Regions from separate parts of the Homo sapiens genome. Here regions 1 and 2 are each linked to region 3. Evidence: promoter capture Hi-C in human tissues and cell types (Jung and others, 2019). All regions are on one chromosome and are shown on one strand. Each heading gives the region's core, a stretch centred on a gene start or on the middle of the fragment in contact. The rest is flanking DNA. Distances are from core to core; before and after follow the strand shown. Region 1 overlaps RFT1 (RFT1 glycolipid translocator homolog). Region 2 overlaps SFMBT1 (Scm like with four mbt domains 1). Region 3 holds the start of GLT8D1 (glycosyltransferase 8 domain containing 1).

Region 1 (2,994 bases), core at 495-2,994, 390 kb after region 3:
AACTCTCCCTAGATACAGGGAAGCAGGACACCGGAAGAAGCCCTGGGCTGCCTTTGCGGCTGGCTGTCTTTCAAGAGGAGCTGGCCCTGACAGCAGCACTGGGCGAACAGCAGGGGAGGGATGAGAGAGTGAGCACTGCCTTCAGACATAGAGCCTCTCTCAAGCTGAGAGAGCACAAGCCTGGGGAGTCCTGCTCCCAGAGACCCCGGAGTCACAAGGCTGCTTGTAGAGCAGCAGCTCTGTTCCTGGAGCAGAGAACAGGCACTGTGAGCATGAGCATGATGGTCCTGGGCCTGTCACGAAGGAAGACAATGGGGCATGCCAACCTTGGTGGCATCAAAGCCACGTGGGCTTGCCAGAAAAGCCAATCTCAGAGCCCTCCTCCTGGGAGACACAGACCCTGAAGGCCTGGAGTGGGTCCTGGGAAGCCATGTTCTGACTTGCAATCCAGGTGATTCCGAGGCAGGTAGAATGAGGATCATGCTTGAGTCTGGGGTCAGGTGGGCACGGGATAGGTGCAGGGTTCCGGGAGGGTGATCAGCAGCTGCAGAGAAGCAGCTCATGAGGACTGAAGGTCCCTTTCTGTGGATGCCAGGGACAGAGAAAGGACATGGGAGGGAAGGAGGACTGCCTTCCGTGTGTGCTCCACTTGACCCTATGGGACCATCCATTTTTCTGAGCTGGCCTGACCTTGCCCGATGAAGGCATGACTGAGGCCATGCTTTGGAGGTCCTCTAATTGCTCAGGACACCTTGCATTTAGCTGCTTTTCTCCCACTTAGTGCAAAGCATTCTCCCTCTGAGTAGATAAAAACCTGCCAGGTGACTGGGCCCCAGTCTTGGTGTACTGACAGGTCTTAATCCTTAGCCCCTGGGTACTGGCTCTGGGCAAGCAGATTTAAATACATGCATTTTAATGCATGATAGGAGTTGCCCTTACTGGCCCTCTCTCTAGGTGTAGACACAGAAGGTTTGGGGCACTGAGTGACAGGATTATTAACATCCAAGTTATAGTTTGTGCATATAGTTCTGAGGGGGGTTAATATCTAAAAGGAATTAATACATTAACAAAAAAATAAAAACACTTCACACTCCAGAACACTGCTCATGATTTCACCTGCAGTGTGCAGGCTGCAAGGTGCAGAACACCTGGGCTCACACTGTAGCCTGGAGTACCAGGCCCCCATGCCTGCCACTCTTGTCCTGGGGCTGGAATTTGGTTGTATTGATCAATGCTGGAATTAATGGGTCAACGGGAGGGACCTGACTCAGTAATACTAGCCATATAGAGTTTGCCTTGTCTTATTCTGAGGATAAAAAAGTACATCTGTTAAACCTTATCTGTCACCAGTGCAATTCCCATGTGAGAAGTTACAGAAAGCTGCAAAGCAGCATTCCCCTCAGGGACAAAGTGGCTCAACTGGATCACAGTTTTCTTCAAAGTCCGCCTCTTGCAGGTGGCCAGGCCAGGAGTCTCCAGCCAGCTTTCACCCACCCTTCAATCAACAAATCCTGAGAGCCCACTCTGGGTCAAGTATGTGCTGACCTGGGGCGGCGGGGAACAGTGTGATCACGACAGGCAAGATTCTCCCGAACTCACTCTGGGAAATGTGATCTGAAAACCTTCCTGGTTTCATTTCTTGGATTTCTCACTGAGTAGCATTTTTCCTTCTCTAAAAACTCAGACCACAGTTTTGACACAAAGAAAGCCACAACTTCAGGGCCACACTCTGTTTCCATGTGGTGCATGAGAGAGAGAGGTTTCTCTCTCTCTTTTACAGAAGAAGTTCAATATTCCTGTGAAGGGTAAAATCACTGCATCTCTTTTTCTGGGCCAGATAATTATTAACAGTTAACAATTAAGATATAGTTTGTTGGAGCATGTAGCTCCAAAGGCCAATCATACGCAAAAGGAATGAGTATATTAGTAAAAGAGAAAATGCTGATTACTATAAAATGATAAAAAACTATTATTTTTAAAGGGCTTTTGGTCTTCACTTAAAAATGAAACTCCCCCCCCGCATTTCAGACTTCGAATGGTCACAGGTGTCTCATGCAGTGGCACTCTCTGGTGCCTCATCTCTGGGGTTGCTGTCACTCCGCTGCAGAGCCCTCAGTGGGGCTCTTACACAGAATGTGTTCCACCCACAGAACTACCCATAGCTGGTCCAGGTGCCTCGGGTGTCCAGGCTTCCCTGAAGTCATGTCATTTTGTCAGTGCGTCTGGGCACACCTAACTGAGTCCTGAGGAAATGGATCAGCTTGGTCTCTGTGAGGAATGCTGTCCCGAGAGTTGCTCCCAGACAGAAGGCCCCCACAGCAATGTGTGCCAGTCTGGCTGGCCAGCCCTGCTCACAGCAGAGGAATACCTGGGGAAAGAAACCATTGTCAGTGCCTGTTCCTCAGTCTATACCTCCTTCCTCTGGGACCAGCCAGGGAAGACAGCTGTGGTTCCAGCTTCTAAGTCAGATAAAAGGCATAACAGCCATACTGCAGGTCCATTGTTTCCCCATTGGCAACATTCTCTTGTCACATTATCAGAAGATGCTGCCCTAGAGGCCTGGGGAGGGGACAGGAGGAGGCAAAAACCTGGGAAGAGGAGGCCTAGCGGGAGAGACAGCGGGGCAGCTGCAGAAGCATGTGGCATGATGGCTCAGGGAGTCTCACCTCCGAAACAGCAGTAACCCCACCACTGAGGGCAAATGTCCCGAGCAGGACTGGCGATAGGTGCAGGCCAGCCAGGGGCCTGTGGGGGCTCCTTCGGTAGTAGCGGTGGATGAAGCAAAGGCTCTGCGTGATCCGAATGCCCATGTTAAAGCAGTTGGCCAAGATGAAGCCCACGCTGCCACACCAACGGGTCAAGAGATAGGATAACACCAGGAATGAGGAGGACAGGGCCAGCATCACAAAATTGTACCTGGGGAGGAGACAGGAAAAGGAGGGCAGTGGTGACCTTGCCCTGGACAAGGCTGCTCCCAAAACAGCGGCCATGAAC
Region 2 (3,082 bases), core at 42-2,541, 340 kb after region 3:
GAATTCAAATCTGAGTACTTGTTGGCTAACACTTTAAATTGAATATCAGCAAGAAAAACTCCTGAGGCATTTTAGTAATTGCTAAATTTCTCATCCCAGCTCATGTTGTCATTCCAAATGTGTGACTGTCCCACACTTTCAACTGCCAACAAACCACCTTCCAACTCTCATCTAAGATCCTCTCCAAATACCATCTCAGACAGAACCCAAGTTTCCCAGATAAACAGATACTGACACTTAACAACCCTATCTGCCCCACATCAGTTTAATAATTAACCTTTCTCTAGACTAAGCAAAAACATCAAAAAAGAACCAATGCACCAGACCAGTATGCCAGTTAAAAAAAAAAAAAAAGACCCAATGCACACAGTACTGTGCATCATGTTGGAAATATCACCTTATAGCCTCTCTCTGCATAGTGACATGCTTGGCTCACTGAAGTTACTCAACTGTTCAAACCACAGAGTTCAACAGGTACTTAACACATCATTTAACACACAATATACAGACTACTTTTTTTTTTGTTTTTATTTATTTTTTTGAGACAGGGTCTCGCTATGTCACCAGGCTGAAGGGGTGTGATCACAGCCCACTGCAACGTCTGTCTCCCTGGCTCAAGAGATATACCTGCCTCAGCCTCCCGAGTAGCTGAGACTACAGGCATGCACCAAGACACCTGAATTTTTTTTTTTTTTTTTTTTTTTTTTTTTTTTTTTGTAGAGACAGGGCTTCCCTATGTTGTCCAGGCTGGTATCAAACTCCTGGACTCCAGAGATCTGCCTGCCTTGGTCTCCCAAAATGCTGGGATTACAGGTGTAAGTCACTGCGCCCGGCCTATTTTTTGTTTTTAAATAAATTCCTTGAGTGACTGCCTGAAGACAAAAGAGAACTAAATAAGGTTATAAACATCCTCTTGAATAAAAGAAAGAATAATTACATACACGTTTTCAGGTGTCTCTGAGTTAGAGGAAAAGGTTTACAATCAAATCATTAAGACTTATGCAGTGAAGTCATATGATTTTTCTATTAATAATGTGTCAGTGTTCTTATCCTTCCTCCCCCTTTTGAAAAGTTTAAACATGAATCTGCAACAACCTGACCACATTCTTTCTATTTTAAATCATTTTCCGCGAGGCGCGGGGGCTCATGCCTGTAATCCCAGCACTTTGGGAGGCCAAGGAGGGTGGATCACCTGAGATCAGGAGTTCAAGACTAGCCTGACCAACATGGTGAAACCCCATCTTTACTAAAAATACCAAAATTAGCCAGGAATGGTGGTGCATGCCCATAATCCCAGCTACTTGGGAGGCTGAGGCAGGAGAATTGCTTGAACCCAGGAGGCAGAGGTTGCAGTGAGCCATGATCGTGCCATTGCACTCCAGCCTGGGCAACAAGAGTAAAAGTCTGTCTCAAAAAAAAAAAAAAAAAAAAAAAAAAAAAAAAATTCTTTTCCAATGAGGTTAGTATCCCCTGAAGAATGGGAGACTCCTATCAAAATCCCACTCCCCAAACTCTAATGGTTTAAAATCTCGCAAGTAACCAAAATCCCCACACACTTTTATCCCATTTAATAACTATGTATATACAGAAATATTATTTTCAAATACAAAATATCCCAGTTAGGTAACGAATGCTATATACTAAAAGAAAAATACTCTGCCATAAGGAAGTTGTATCATTTACTCATTACAAGTTCTTTTATTTTATGTTATTCCAAAATATTGGTTATAAGCCAAATAATCCAAGAAAGCAAAATTTTGGAAAATTATAAGAGAAAAAATGTAACATTAAAAATATTAAAGATGTAAAATGTCTGCCTAAATAATGGCCTTTTGGTTTTTGGACTGTATCTATTTACTTAATGTGAACATAACATGACGCCAAAATAAAAAGCCAATGAAGTTTGTATAGTTCATCTTTTCTACAGACTTTAGAGTTAAATGATACCTGCTGCTACACCACCATTCCACAGCTAAACCCAGTCTAGGTATCACTGTGAAAGCAAAAGTATACTACAGAAGCAGGAAGATTATGGATAGGCAAATCATACTGGGTTGGTTGGTTTGTTTTTTGAGACAGTGTCACTCTGTTACCCAGGCTGGAGTGCAGCAGTGCAATCATAGCTCACTGCAGCCTCGAACTCCTGGGCTCAAAGGATCCTCCCACCTCAGCCTCCTGAAGAGCTGGGACTATAGGTGCCCACCACCGCGCCTGGCTAATTTTTTTATTTTTTTGGAGACACAGGGTCTCCCTTTTCTTTCATCCAGGCTGGCCTCGAACTCCTGGTCTCAAGCGATCCTCTTGCCTAGCCTCCCAAAGTGCTGGGATTATAGGCGTGAGCCACTGTGCCTAGCCAGCAATCATTTTTAAAAGGAAAAATCTGAGTTTACAACAAAACAGCAAAAAAAGGAAATTCCCTTTCATTGTGTATTTTGTTTCTCGTGTATCTCTTTAGTTGCTTCTCTTAAAAATGTAATAGATTTTAAATTAAACAATCTGATCACATAAAAGTCAAGAAATTTAAAAAGAGCCACAAAAAGAAACAATGTATCAATAATAGCTAAGTCATCAATTACTCTCTTGGCTAATGAGGCTGTGAATCTTGGGTGGAGTGACCAAATCCAGCTTAGTTGCTGGTCAGTCAGTTGGCTGGCTAGCTTAACACGGGAAAGACAGAATTATTCAGCGAAATCATTTCACAAAAGAAAACCTTTTAACTTTGTGGACTATTCCCCATGGATCCCTACACCACAGGCCTTAGAACATTCCCAACTTTTATCACACAGATATCTTTGCAGTAAAAAACACAAGCCTTTGTTAGGAACTAACAAAATAAGAATTCACTTACAACATCTAACCCATCTCCTTTACAGTAGGAACAAGAAAAGGCACAAGACGACATTGGTGAAGGAAATGCAAATTGTTGCAGCATTTGCTTCAGTGGAGAATATTTAAAAGTCCACCTTCCTAGAAAGAGGGTTAATAAAAAAAAAAAGGTATCTTAGTCATGCTGATTTTTTTAATCACACCTGACATAATTTTTAGTTAACCTTTTGTTTTTGCTTTCATTGTTGCACTTTAA
Region 3 (2,810 bases), core at 243-2,742:
AATCACAAAAATTAGCCGGGCGTGGTGGCGCATGCCTGTAATCCCAGCTACTCAGAAGGCTGAGGCAGGACAATCCCTTGAACCCAGGAGGCGGAGGTTGCAGTGAGCCGCGATCGCACCACTGCACTCCAGCCTGGGCAACAGAGCGAGTCTTCGCCTCAAAAAAAAAAAAAAAAAAAAAAAAAGACCACACAGAGATATATCTATTTATACACACAACAGAAAGTCTCTTCAAACACACCAAGAAATACAGAGCATGAGAAGGAAACAGGAATAAACTCTTGCCCATCCCTCTTTCTGCCTTCTACACGTCCTGAGTCCTTCTGAGGTCAGAAAAGTGTCAAACGTGTCTGCATTTTACTGTTTGGTCTCTGCCACGTGCAAGGATGAAAGGGCACTGAGGATATACAAACACTTTCTCCTACCCTTTCATCTGGCTGGCTCCCACTTGGCATTCAAAGGTCAAGGTAGCCTCCTCCAAACTCCACGTTGAGCTGCACCTCCCCTGAGCTCCCACATCTGGGCCTCCCTCTCCCAGGGCTAATCCAGCTGTCATGTATTTCTGGCGTGATGTGGCTGTCTCCCTTGACACGCTCTGGGCTCTTCCAAGGCAACAGCCTGGTCTTGGTAACAACCGTGTCCTCGGTCTGCTGTCTGGCACAAACAAGGTGCCGTGAATATTTGCTGGTTGCATGAATGAGGACAGCAGTCCCACCCTGTCCCGGGAGTGCCTAGAATTCCACTGTTTGTGGCCAACCCAGAATACATAACCTGGGGGCCGGAGAGCCAGCTGGGACCCAGAGGCCCGGGTTCCTCAGAACGGTTTCTCTCCAAAACGTGGGCATCCCACCTGGCTGACGGTAACGGAGGAGGGTCTAAGATTTAGAGATACACCAGCCTTGAAAGAGAGGCTGAGTGAACCTTTGGCTGGCCTCTATCGGGAGGGCCCAGCCTGGGTCTGTGAGGGTCAGTAAAGCCGGCCACAATGTGAGAGGGCTGAGTTCGGGAGCCCCCAGATGAGGGACTTTCTACGCGGATGAGAGGGACAGCCGAGCACCAGGGTCCCCTCTCCAAGGGAATTCTCTCTGTTGTGGATGCCGCCTAGGGTAGCCCCCCTAAATTCCAAGGGTCAGTAGGGCCCCCCTTACACTTTGAAGTGATCGGAAAGTGATGTGACGCTCCGGGGATCCCACCAGGCTCAGAGATACCCCTGGTTAGGGCTCCGACAAGTCGTTCCCCTCAAAGGCTCGCCGCGGCCGCCCTTACTGCAGGCGATGGAGGAGATGCGGATGCAGCCCGCGCCCCGACCCGCCCTGCCAGCTCAGCGCCCGCGCCGCAGGCCCCGGAGCCCAGCCCGTTGTCTGGCCGCCCGCGTTCCCTGCACGCTGGGCCGAGCACACTTGCCCTCTAGCTCCGTGGCAGCCGCGCAGCCCCACTACGCCCAGCCAGCCCGCAGCGGTAACCGCTAGAGCGTCGCGCCAAGCAGGCGCCGCGGGGCAGCCCTGCCGCCGGGGTCCTCGCAGGGAAAAAGGCCGTCGCCATGGAGACGCGGGGGCGCCGGCGGCCGTTGGGCCGCGCAAGTACTGTCAAGGACAGTTTTCGGGACGGGGGACGCGGCTCCAGGCACCCAACAGCACTGACGGCGAACACTTCACGGGCGCGCGATGCCTCGACAAGGCGGCCGCCACCACCACCTCAGCTGCCCTCGCGGGCAGCACGGCGCGGCAAAAGCGCACGTCGCCTAGCGATGGCGCGGGGCGGGGACACGGGCTGTACCGGCCCGTCGGAGACTTCCGCTTCCGGGGCCGCCGCCATCGCTCTCCCGGGCTTAGAAGGCCCGGCTACTGACGCGCAGTGCCAGACCTTACCCCTCACGGTCCTTAAGTCTCGGTCGCCCTCGCCTCGCAGCCTGCCACCCGCGCTCAGCTGCCCGCCTCCTCAGCCAGCCATGCTGGAGCATCTGAGCTCGCTGCCCACGCAGATGGTGAGGGCGCAACCCGGGGACCTCTGCACGCCGTTCTTGTGCCTGGCAGCTTCGAAGCCCATGTTGGAGCACCGACCCGGTGCTGCGCTGTTCCGGGCCCGGATGGTTACCGTCCACCCTCTTTCCCGAATTGCCTCCTGGGTCCCCTTCTCTTCTACTCCGCGAGAATCTCCTGTCCATTCTCCGTGAGGGTGTTTCAGTTCCTCCCGGGAAGCCCAGAATTTAATATCTTGCCCAGGCCCTTAGGAGAGCGGGAGACCCTGATGTTGGGGTTACCCTGTGCCAGAGTTGTGAGGTCAGGGCAGGAATTGTATGTTCTCGGCGGTGGAACCAATTCTTTTTTTCCTCTGCTTCACCCCAGGATTACAAGGGCCAGAAGCTAGCTGAACAGATGTTTCAGGGAATTATTCTTTTTTCTGCAGTAAGTATTGGTTTTACATTTAATCTCCGCCCCCGCCTCCCTCCCAACCCTCAGTTTGAGTGTGTTTAATATACTTCATTTGTCTCTAGATAGTTGGATTTATCTACGGGTACGTGGCTGAACAGTTCGGGTGGACTGTCTATATAGTTATGGCCGGATTTGCTTTTTCATGTTTGGTAAGAAATTTGTGGGTATTAGTGGCAGCTTGGGTTTTGTGAGTCGGGTTGGTTTGGTTAGACCTACTCAGTAGTGAGACCCAAAGCCAACGTTTCCCTCATCCTTCCAAACAGCGTTTCCCTTTGCTATCATTGGAAAAGTAGAATGCCAAAATAGTGTCAGATGGTGCGAACTATATAAAAGGACACAGCTTATTTCCTTTGGCGGCTACTCTGGCTAATAATCTTA

Evidence for each region. The method cuts DNA at HindIII sites, captures the fragments that hold promoters and counts their contacts. A contact is called where the count stands out against the background at its distance.
Region 1: a contact is called between a fragment that was not itself captured here and the fragment with the promoter of GLT8D1 in region 3, in 1 of the 25 tissues and cell types used here (lymphoblastoid cells).
Region 2: a fragment that was not itself captured here is called in contact with the fragment with the promoter of GLT8D1 in region 3 in 1 of the 25 tissues and cell types used here (hippocampus).

What each region holds. Positions count from the first base shown.
Region 1 is chr3:53,089,703-53,092,696 of GRCh38, forward strand. RFT1 (RFT1 glycolipid translocator homolog) reads right to left here. Exons shown (of 13, transcript NM_052859.4): 12 at 2,667-2,916; 13 at 1-2,368. The coding sequence ends at 2,201. Among named protein-coding and RNA genes, the nearest start is that of RFT1, 39 kb to the right of the region's middle. The HindIII fragment of the contact is 9,550 bases long and covers 1-2,994 here.
Region 2 is chr3:53,040,288-53,043,369 of GRCh38, forward strand. All of the region lies in intron 1 of SFMBT1 (Scm like with four mbt domains 1), which reads right to left. Among named protein-coding and RNA genes, the nearest start is that of SFMBT1, 4.2 kb to the right of the region's middle. The HindIII fragment of the contact is 6,201 bases long and covers 1-3,082 here.
Region 3 is chr3:52,704,299-52,707,108 of GRCh38, forward strand. It overlaps GLT8D1 (glycosyltransferase 8 domain containing 1), which reads right to left and starts at 1,493. Exons shown (of 10, transcript NM_018446.4): 1 at 1,149-1,493. It overlaps SPCS1 (signal peptidase complex subunit 1), which reads left to right and starts at 1,808. Exons shown (of 4, transcript NM_014041.5): 1 at 1,808-1,984; 2 at 2,346-2,405; 3 at 2,495-2,581. The coding sequence starts at 1,949. RefSeq lists a silencer at 1,220-1,389. The HindIII fragment of the contact is 20,736 bases long and covers 1-2,810 here.